Linked DNA regions of Homo sapiens: all the other regions are linked to region 2. Evidence: promoter capture Hi-C in 16 types of primary human blood cells and fetal thymus (Javierre and others, 2016). All regions are on one chromosome and are shown on one strand. The core of a region is centred on a gene start or on the middle of the fragment in contact, and the rest is flanking DNA. Distances in the headings are between cores, read along the strand shown.

Region 1 (2,700 bases), core at 182-2,681, 210 kb after region 2:
TCATCACCTTTAATTATCAGATTTATTCACTTGTTTACTTCTTCAATGTTTGACTTCCCAGTAGACTATAAGCTTCATGAAGGCAAGGATTACAGTGTTTTTATTGTTGTTGTTTGCCACCAAATACTCAGCCTCTGGTATAGTAACTAGCAAGAAGTAGATGTTCAATAAATATTTGTTTTAATAAATATATAATTATTATGTTTGTTGAAAAGTGTGAACCAACATCATAGGGAAAAATTACCTTAACATTAACTTCTAAAAAATGATGAATCAAGCAATTTCCTGAAAATGTGCAAGAACAGACTTTCAGAATGATGTTCTATGAACTGTAGTCTGCAGGTCATTTGAAATCCAGCAAATATTTTCATCCTCCTTCTTCTGATTCTATAACTTATTCTATATCTAGAATTACTCTAAAGACTAATTCTAACCTGGATACAAGATAAAAAGTAAAGATGGAAGATTCTAAAGAACAATTTTAACAATGTCCCATTTAGGGGGATTTTCATTACATACTTTATGAACACAGGTTCGGCATATTAGCTATCCGTGGAAATAAGTCACTTACTACATCTACATGAGCATGTTGAGATGAAAGTGTTTGCAAATCATGCTTTTTCAAGGGTGGCTAAACAAATCTCTATTCATCTATTACAACTCATAGTCATTGCTAATGTTCAAATATATTAGGGTTGAACATAACACAAAAATGGAAATGCTGGAAAGATTAACATTATTTAATCTACAGATGACTCATGCTACTGGTTTAACCATTTTCTTTAGATTTTTTTCATATACAGGAATATATTTTTATATACATATATAATATGCTGAAGGGACAAAAATATTGCATGATCATTATCCTAAAGAAACAGATTCCAATTATTTCTTTTGAATTATAGACTTACAGTTAATTAAGAATTTTTATAGTTAATTAAAAATTAGACAGATTGTAACCTTGAATGTAACAAAGGACATAAAGAGAAACCATTTGTCACATGTACCTTTTCGGGAAAATCTCACAAAAGATTTTGTTTGGCAAAGCTATTTGAAACAATTTAAAGCTAGAAATGTTTCTAGGCTATAGCAAGATGAATTCCATCGGTTTGGATTTTGACCTACCACTAAATTTTGGATTTAGGAACAGTCTCATTTTTATACTTAACACAAAAATTAAATTTTAACTTAGAAACTGAGTTTTACACAGCTTGAGGCTTGTGAAAAATTATGTGAAAATAAGTCAGTTACTGCTAGGGTCTCAGTGTTTGTGTCCTCCACAAAATTCATTTGTTGAAATTTTAACCCTTGAGATGATGGTAGTAGGAGTCAGGGCCTTTTGGGAGGTGATTAGGTCACGAGAGTGGAGCCCTCATGAATGGGATTAGTGTGCTTATAAAAGAAACATGAGGGAGCTAGCTAGTCCCTTCCACCATGTGCAGGTACAATGAGCTGTCTCTAGACAGGGGGCCCTTACCAGTCATGGAATCTGCCAGTGCCTTGTCTTTGACTTCCCAGCCTCCAGAACTGTAAAAAATAAATTGCTGTCATTTATAAGCTACCTCGTTCGTAGTATTTTGTTACAGCAGCCTGAACAGACTAAGCCAGATAATATATAGAGACAACAGATGGCTTCATACACCTAGGTGTGAATCCTGGGAAAATTGAGTGGAAACCACAGTTGAGAACACCAACGTCCTAACAATCCTGTAGCCTTCAGGCTTAGTTGGTTCTGGACTCCCTCTAGTGGTTCAATTCTAGTGCTTTAATTGATGTTCTTCAATTCATAGAATTAACAAATTTCTGGTCAGATTAAAAACAACTAAGCAAAAGAGCCACACAACTCCCATTAGAATGGTTTACCACAAGGAGGCCAGGTGCAGTGGCTCATGCCTGTAATCTCAGCACTTTGGGAGGCTGAGGCAGGTGGATCACTTGAGGCCTGGAGTTCGAGACCAGCCTGGCCAACAGGGTAAAACCCTATCTCTACTAAAAATCCAAAAGTTAGCCAGGCGTGGTGGTAGGCACCTGTAATCCCAGCTACTTGGGAGCCTGAGGCAGGAGAATTGCTTGAACTTGGGAAACAGATGTTGCAGTGAGCTGAGATCCTGCCATTGCACTCAAGACTGGGTGACAGAGCAAGACTGTCTAAAAAATAAATAAAATTTTAAAAATAAAAAGAATGGTTTATCACAAGGAGATTATGTCATTGAATGGCATGATAAATATGGATGTTCAGATGGCTGAAATCATAGTGTTGCAAATGGTTAGACCTAAAGGGACAGAATGGATTTTACTGGATGATTGGGAAAGACATTTATAGTTTTGCTCAGAGTGAGTGGATAAGAGCTGAAGGCCCAGTAACAGAATTCCTTGTTGCTTTTGTTTGCAACCTATGGTAAAGACTGGATCTTTTAGAGAAAGAGTGAAGTGAAATAATATTTCCTGTGCATATGGATTCTATAAGGTCAGAGGGTTCTTGTTTGACCTTGTATAAAATCAACCTCTTAGACCAACCAAAAGCAACATGTAGTTTCCTTCTCATCATATTCCTAATAGCATAGTTTGTGCCTCTGTTTTAAACCAATTCAGAAAATTTTGAGGCCGATTTAACTTTATTGGCTCCCTGTTTTGGCTTTGGTTATTCCACTCCATTAAACCTTTACTTCTTGGCCATTTCTGCACTGTAAATATAAGTAA
Region 2 (2,978 bases), core at 269-2,768:
GAGCTCTCGGGGTGAGTGAAGAAGGACAGCAGAGCCAAGGCAGCCCACAGAGTCATCATCACAGAATTTAGGGGCCTGGGATGGCTTTCAGCTCTCACTCTGCCAGGGAGGGATAAGGCCAACCCGAATCAGGGCAGGGCCCTGAGGCATGGTGGATTTCCTGTTCTCCTCCCTATCCTGGTGCCTGCAGACCCAGGAAAAGCTCCAGCCTCCCTCAGAATGGACCAGGGGGAGAGGGAGGCCAGGAGGAGAGGAGGAATGGGCTCAGCTGCTTAGCCCCATGTGGGCAACAGGTCCTGAGCACTGACTATCCTCATACCTGAGAGGACGAGGGAAGGAGGGAGGAGTGGGCCTGGACCCCACGAAGCCCCCTTGGCAAGAGCTGTAAGCTGCCTGTCTTCGCCTCCTGAGAACAACAGCCTATAGGGCAAAGGCCAGCTCGTGCTGTGTCCGCAAGGAGAAACCCGTCTTCACCTCCTTTCTGGGGCTTCAGCACCTGCAAGGATGCTTAGGCTGGAGAAACAGGAGGAGGAAGAGGAGGAGGAAGCAAAGAGGCAACAGGAGGGAAGAGCTTTGTGCTGGCTATGCCCAGGGGGAAGGGTCAGAGATCAAAGGGCACTGAGCCGCTGCTTCCAGAGGGGCAGAAAGGCCATCAACCAGTGGGGGTTGGGAGGTGCGCCTCAATTCCCGTTAGCAAAAGGCTCATGGATCAGGCTAGAGGGGGCTACGAAGTGGAGAGCCAGCCCGGGAGGGGGAGGGTCACCAGTTCTGGGGCCATTACAAAGGATAGGGCAGAGGGGCAGAGTTTGGGGCTTCCGTCTCAGATTAGTCGGTTGAGAATCTGAACAAAGGTGGGTGAAGGCTCGGAACCCCGGGGTCAGGGGCTCGCGTCTGCCAGAAGCTGAGACACCGAGGGGCCCGGGCCAGGCCACCTTTGTCCCTCTCGCAGCCTCCAGACCCCTGACCGCCTTCCCTCCTGGCCATCCCGGCCCGGCGCGGCACTCACCCTATCGCTGCTGGCGGGGGGTCCGGAGATCCGCTCATCAGCAGGCGGCGCCGGGGGCCCCGGGGTCTCGACCCGAATAAGGCGGTGTGGGGGAGAGCCGTGGCGCGGGGGCGGCGTGGGTCCGGGGGCGACAGGGGTGGCGAGGGCGGCGGAGCCGGACGACCCCCCGGAGTAGGGGTCTTCGAAGTCGCGCTCCCGCTGCAGCCTGTAGGCGGCCAGGATGTCCGGGGGCGGCGCGGGGGGCGCGGCCGGAGAGGGCGCAGGGGGGCGGTAGTCGGGCTCGGGGGGCGCCGGCTTGCTGCCCCCTCCGCCGCCGCCCCCCCCGCGGAAGCCCAGGTGCTCCCGGAGCCACTTGGCTACTCCGCCGCTGCCGCCCCCTCCTGGGCCGGCTCCCGCACCCCCGGCGCCCCGGCGGGACCCCCCCGGGCCGCCCCCAGCGCTCCCCTGCGTTCGCGGCCCCGGGCGGGAGCCAGCCGGAGGAGCTCCGCTCAGTAACATGGGGCCAGCCAGACTGAGCGAGGGGAGCGCAGCGGCGGGTGGGGGGCGGGGGCGGGGGTGGGGAGGGGGGCGGGGCTCCGCCGGGCGGGGAGGGGGCGGGGCGCTTCAGTAACAAGGGAGAGGCGGGGCTCCGCTCCCTAACAGGGTCTTCCTCCTCCCGTAGCTCGGAAGAGTGTACGCGGGCTTCCAGCCGGTATGCACAGGCAAGAAGTGAAGTGGGCAGCCCTGGGGCAGAGGATGCGACTACTGGACTGAGGTTGAATCCTTTACGTGTCGCCACGCGGTCCCCTGTGGGGAGCGCATCCATCCCCATCTGTTCTTTTCCCCAGCTCCCAGCTCGTGCGAGACGCAAAGAGGGGAGCCCCCAGACTCCTGACTCTAGGGAGCCTTACGCCTCTCCTCTTCCCTCTCCCAGGATCTCGCAACTGGGAAACTATAATCTAGGAGGAAAATCTAGGCGGGCAAGAAAAGGGGCTAGGTTCTGTAAGATGTGTCTGTAAGCCTCCTCCTCCCGTGCTACCTTGGGAGCCCCACAACCTCCTCCCATCCAACCGTACGCACTGCACATACCCGAACCTACGTTACTTCCCGATCCAGGCAAACACATCTCACATCACATACAAACAACTCCCTAGAGACGCCCACTTCTCCCGTGTCGTTTTCACACACGCCCTTCTCACACGCAAACAGCCCTCGCTCAAACATCCCCCACCCACGGGAGCACCTGCTCCAAACGGGCCCACATGGCCCTGACGATAGCATGCGCACGCACGCAGAAATCCCTTCCAGCCACATCCCGGGCTTCATTGTCAATCAGATTAGTAACAGAATGGAAACAGACAAGTCAATAAATCAAGTCTAGAAACAGTCCCAGTGTTGTCTATCACAAACTCCTTATCCTCTTGAGGCTCAGATGCTCAAGTGCTAGGCATTTTTGTCTTAGAAATAAAGCCAGTTCCGGCTGGGCGCGGTGGCTCACGCCTGTAATCCCAGCACTTTGGGAGGCCGAAACGGGAGGATCACGAGGTCAGGAGATCGAGACCATCCTGGCTAACACGGTGAAACCCCGTCTCTACCAAAAATACAAAAAAATTAGTCGGGTGTGGTGGCGGGCACCTGTAGTCCCAGCTACTCGGGAGGCTGAGGCAGGAGAATCGCTTGAACCCAGGAGGCAGAGGTTGCATTGAGCTGAGATTGCGCGACTGCACTCCAGCCAGGGCGACAGAGTGAGACTCCGTCTCAAAAAAAAAAAAAAAAGAAAAAGAAAAAAGAAAAGGAAAGAAATAAAGCCAGTTCCTCACCATAAATGTAGGCCTGAAGCCAACACCAACACATTTGCTCTTGGCTCTGCTGGGAAAGCAGCTGTCTCACCTCACTTTACCCCACCCCCTTTCCCCCACTGCCTCAGTGTCTCCGCACTCCTAGGTTCATGTCTGCCTTTTTTTTTTTTTTTTTTTTTTTGAGACGGAGTCTC
Region 3 (2,973 bases), core at 397-2,896, 230 kb after region 2:
AGGCTTTTCATAGGTTCTCATATGGAGAATGTTTCTCTTAGCTACTCCCTTAGCCATGCACACAAAGTAGCTCTTTGGTTAATGATTTGTTTCTGGGATATCTTGATATCAAGAAGCTGGTCTGGAAAGCGGATATAAGCATTCTGGTCCCAAGAAAAGGATATCCCTATTTGAATTTAAATAGACCTTCTGATTTATAATTTTTAGAAAACTTATTAACAACTGATTGACATTACTTTGTGTTGTGTGTTTGCCCTCAGAGTTTCAAGAAGTTTTTAACCGAAGTGTCATGATTATTGCAGCAACAAATAGACCTGATGTGTTAGATACTGCTTTGTTACGACCTGGAAGATTAGATAAGATCATCTATATCCCACCTCCAGATCACAAGGTAGTCATTTACACATTTACTCTGTGTGAGCTCAGCAGAATTGAATTCCAACTTGGATATAGGTGTCCATGGTGTTCTACTTACCCTGGGTTCCGCCTTCTTCCTTGCCTGGTGGCCTTTCATGACATCATAATTTTGATCTTCCTTTGTTGGATACTCTGATCTTGTTCACAGAGAAACATAAGCCTAAATATATGGTGGTTATTTTTTGTGTTGTGGCAGACTCTAAATACTGAGTCTACTCAGCGTTATTTTGCAACTAGAGTGGAGGAATCCTAAAGTGTTAAAAGGGCTTTGAAGATTGAGTCAGCATCCTTATCATACAGTGCAGAAGTCTGAAATTACAGAGATTATGCAGTGTATCGTGGTCAACCAGTAAATTTGTTGTCCGTAAAGTACGGTGCAGAAATCTGAGATTACAGAGATTATGCAGTGTATCATGGTCAACCAGTACATTTTTTGTCGTTAACATCCAGAGCCACTGACAGGGAGGGTGAAAGGCACAGAGTGAATTTTTTTGTTCCTTGGGCTTTTATCAAGTTTTGAAGGGATAGAAAAATAAAATTTAATATCTATTATACCTTTAAGTTGTATCTGATAATTCATGTATTTGCTTCTTAAGCCATGTCTGATAGTATTATTTGTACCCAAGAGAGAGATTTAGCCGGGCGTGGTGGCTCACATCTGTAATCCCAGCACTTTGGGAGGCCAAGGCGGGTAGATCACCAGAGGTCAGGAGTTCGAGACTAGCCTGGCCAACATGGTGAAACCCCATCTCTACTAAAAATACAAAAATTAGCTGGATGTGGTGGCAGGCGCCTGTAATCCCAGCTACTTGGGAGGCTGAGACAGGAGAATCACTTGAACCCGGGAGGTGGAGGTTGTAGTGAGCCAAGATCGTGCCAGTGTACTCCAGCCTGGGTGACAGAGCGAGACTCCATCTCAAAAAAAAAAAAAAAAAAAAGATTCATAAGTTTTTTATGATGTCGTTATTTTTACCATTGTCATATAAGCCATTGATGACTTAGTCTTTCTAACCCCTATATATATTTTCTCGGTAATGTGAAAGGAAACTCAAGCTAAAAATATTTTAATAAATCATTGTGTCAAACATAAATGTTATAAGATTTAAAATACTGTTTTTTATTTTGTTCCAGGGCAGGCTTTCTATTTTAAAAGTCTGTACAAAAACCATGCCAATAGGGCCTGATGTCTCCTTAGAAAACCTCGCAGCAGAAACCTGTTTTTTTTCTGGAGCTGATCTTAGAAACCTCTGCACAGAAGTAAGTTAATTATTGAAGAAATTTGTGGTTCAAAACATTTCTGCATCTTTTCAAATCTTCATTCACTCAGCAGTATTTACTAAAAGCCTGTGTGGTACCATGTGATGTGAAACAGACAGATGTGGCCCCATCCCTCACACAGCTTATTGTAAGTGTGGGGTGGTGAGGAGGGTGGTGCAGAGAGGCAAATCTTAATACTGAGTTGGCAATTGAAAATATGTAGTGAGTTGCGGAAGTAGAGGGTACTGTGGGAGCACCTAGGAAAGACACCAGCCCAGATTTGGCACATCAGAGAAGGCTTTCTGAGAAAGGAGATGTATAAACTGAAATTGGAAGGACAAATCGGGAGTTAGCCAGCTAAGAAGGGAAGGGGGAATGTTTGAGGTGGAGAGAATAAAATGTGCAAAGGATTGAAGATAAGAGATGGTGTGACATTATTGAATCTTAGAGTGGAGAATGGCAAGAAATAAAGCGAAAGAAGTGGGCTAGGCGTGGTGGCTCGTGCCTGTGATCCCAGCATTTTGGGAGGCCAAGGCGAGAGGATTGCTTTAGCCCAGGAGTTTAAGATCAGCCTGGGTAATACAGTGAGACCCCATCTCTAGAAAAAATAAAAAATTAGTCAAATGTGGTGTTAGTCCCAGCTACGTGGGGGACTAGTAGTCCCAGCTACTTGGGAGGGGGAGATGGGAGGATTGCTTGAGCCTGGGAAGCGAAGGTTGCAGTAAGATGAGATCGTGCCGCTGCACTCCAGCCTGGGTGACAGAGTGAGACTCTGTCTCTTAGGAAAAAAAAAAAGCTGAAGGAGTAGACAATGGCCAGGACACACGGGTCCTTGTAAACCACTCTAAGATACCCTTTTTCGTAAACTTTTACTAAATATAACATTCAGAAAAATGCACGGATCATAAGGGTACAGTTCATTGAATTAAAGTGATCACATTTTTATAATCACTACTTATGTCAAGAAATAGAACATTATAAACACCCCAGAATCTTCCTTTGGGCCCTTTCCCAACCTCTGTCACCTACCTTCTTCCAAAAGAGAACTATTGGCTGGGCTTAGTGACTCATGCCTGTAATCCCAGCATTTTGTTGGGGCCAAGGCAGGAGGATCATCTGAGCCCAGGAGTTGAGACCAACCTGGGCAACATGGGGAGACCCTGTCTCTACAAAAACTTTTAAAAAATTGTCCCAGCTACTCAGGAGGCTGAGGTGGGAGGATCACTTGAGCCTGGAGGTCAAGGCTGTAGTGAGCCATGATTGTGTCACTGTACTTCTGCCTGGGTGACAGAGCAAGAC

The links. The method cuts DNA at HindIII sites, captures the fragments that hold promoters and counts their contacts. A CHiCAGO score of 5 or more calls a contact.
Region 1: a contact is called between a fragment that was not itself captured here and the fragment with the promoter of SHF in region 2, in 16 of 17 cell types (naive CD8 T cells, monocytes, naive CD4 T cells and 13 more). The highest score is 18.0, in naive CD8 T cells.
Region 3: a fragment that was not itself captured here is called in contact with the fragment with the promoter of SHF in region 2 in 1 of 17 cell types (M2 macrophages); the score reaches 6.2 in M2 macrophages.

What each region holds. Positions count from the first base shown.
Region 1 is chr15:45,398,069-45,400,768 of GRCh38, forward strand. It overlaps a transcript of GATM not described here. Among named protein-coding and RNA genes, the nearest start is that of AFG2B, 2.9 kb to the right of the region's middle. The HindIII fragment of the contact is 2,722 bases long and covers 71-2,700 here.
Region 2 is chr15:45,186,448-45,189,425 of GRCh38, forward strand. It overlaps SHF (Src homology 2 domain containing F), which reads right to left and starts at 1,519. Exons shown (of 7, transcript NM_001394037.1): 1 at 1,007-1,519. The coding sequence starts at 1,504. LOC124903481 (a long non-coding RNA gene) reads left to right here. Exons shown (of 2, transcript XR_007064608.1): 1 at 1-11; 2 at 1,668-2,371. RefSeq lists an enhancer at 1-499 and a silencer at 1,414-1,463. The HindIII fragment of the contact is 22,026 bases long and covers 1-2,978 here.
Region 3 is chr15:45,417,009-45,419,981 of GRCh38, forward strand. It overlaps AFG2B (AAA ATPase AFG2B), which reads left to right. Exons shown (of 8, transcript NM_024063.3): 6 at 261-391; 7 at 1,549-1,674. Among named protein-coding and RNA genes, the nearest start is that of COXFA4L3, 12 kb to the right of the region's middle. The HindIII fragment of the contact is 9,891 bases long and covers 1-2,973 here.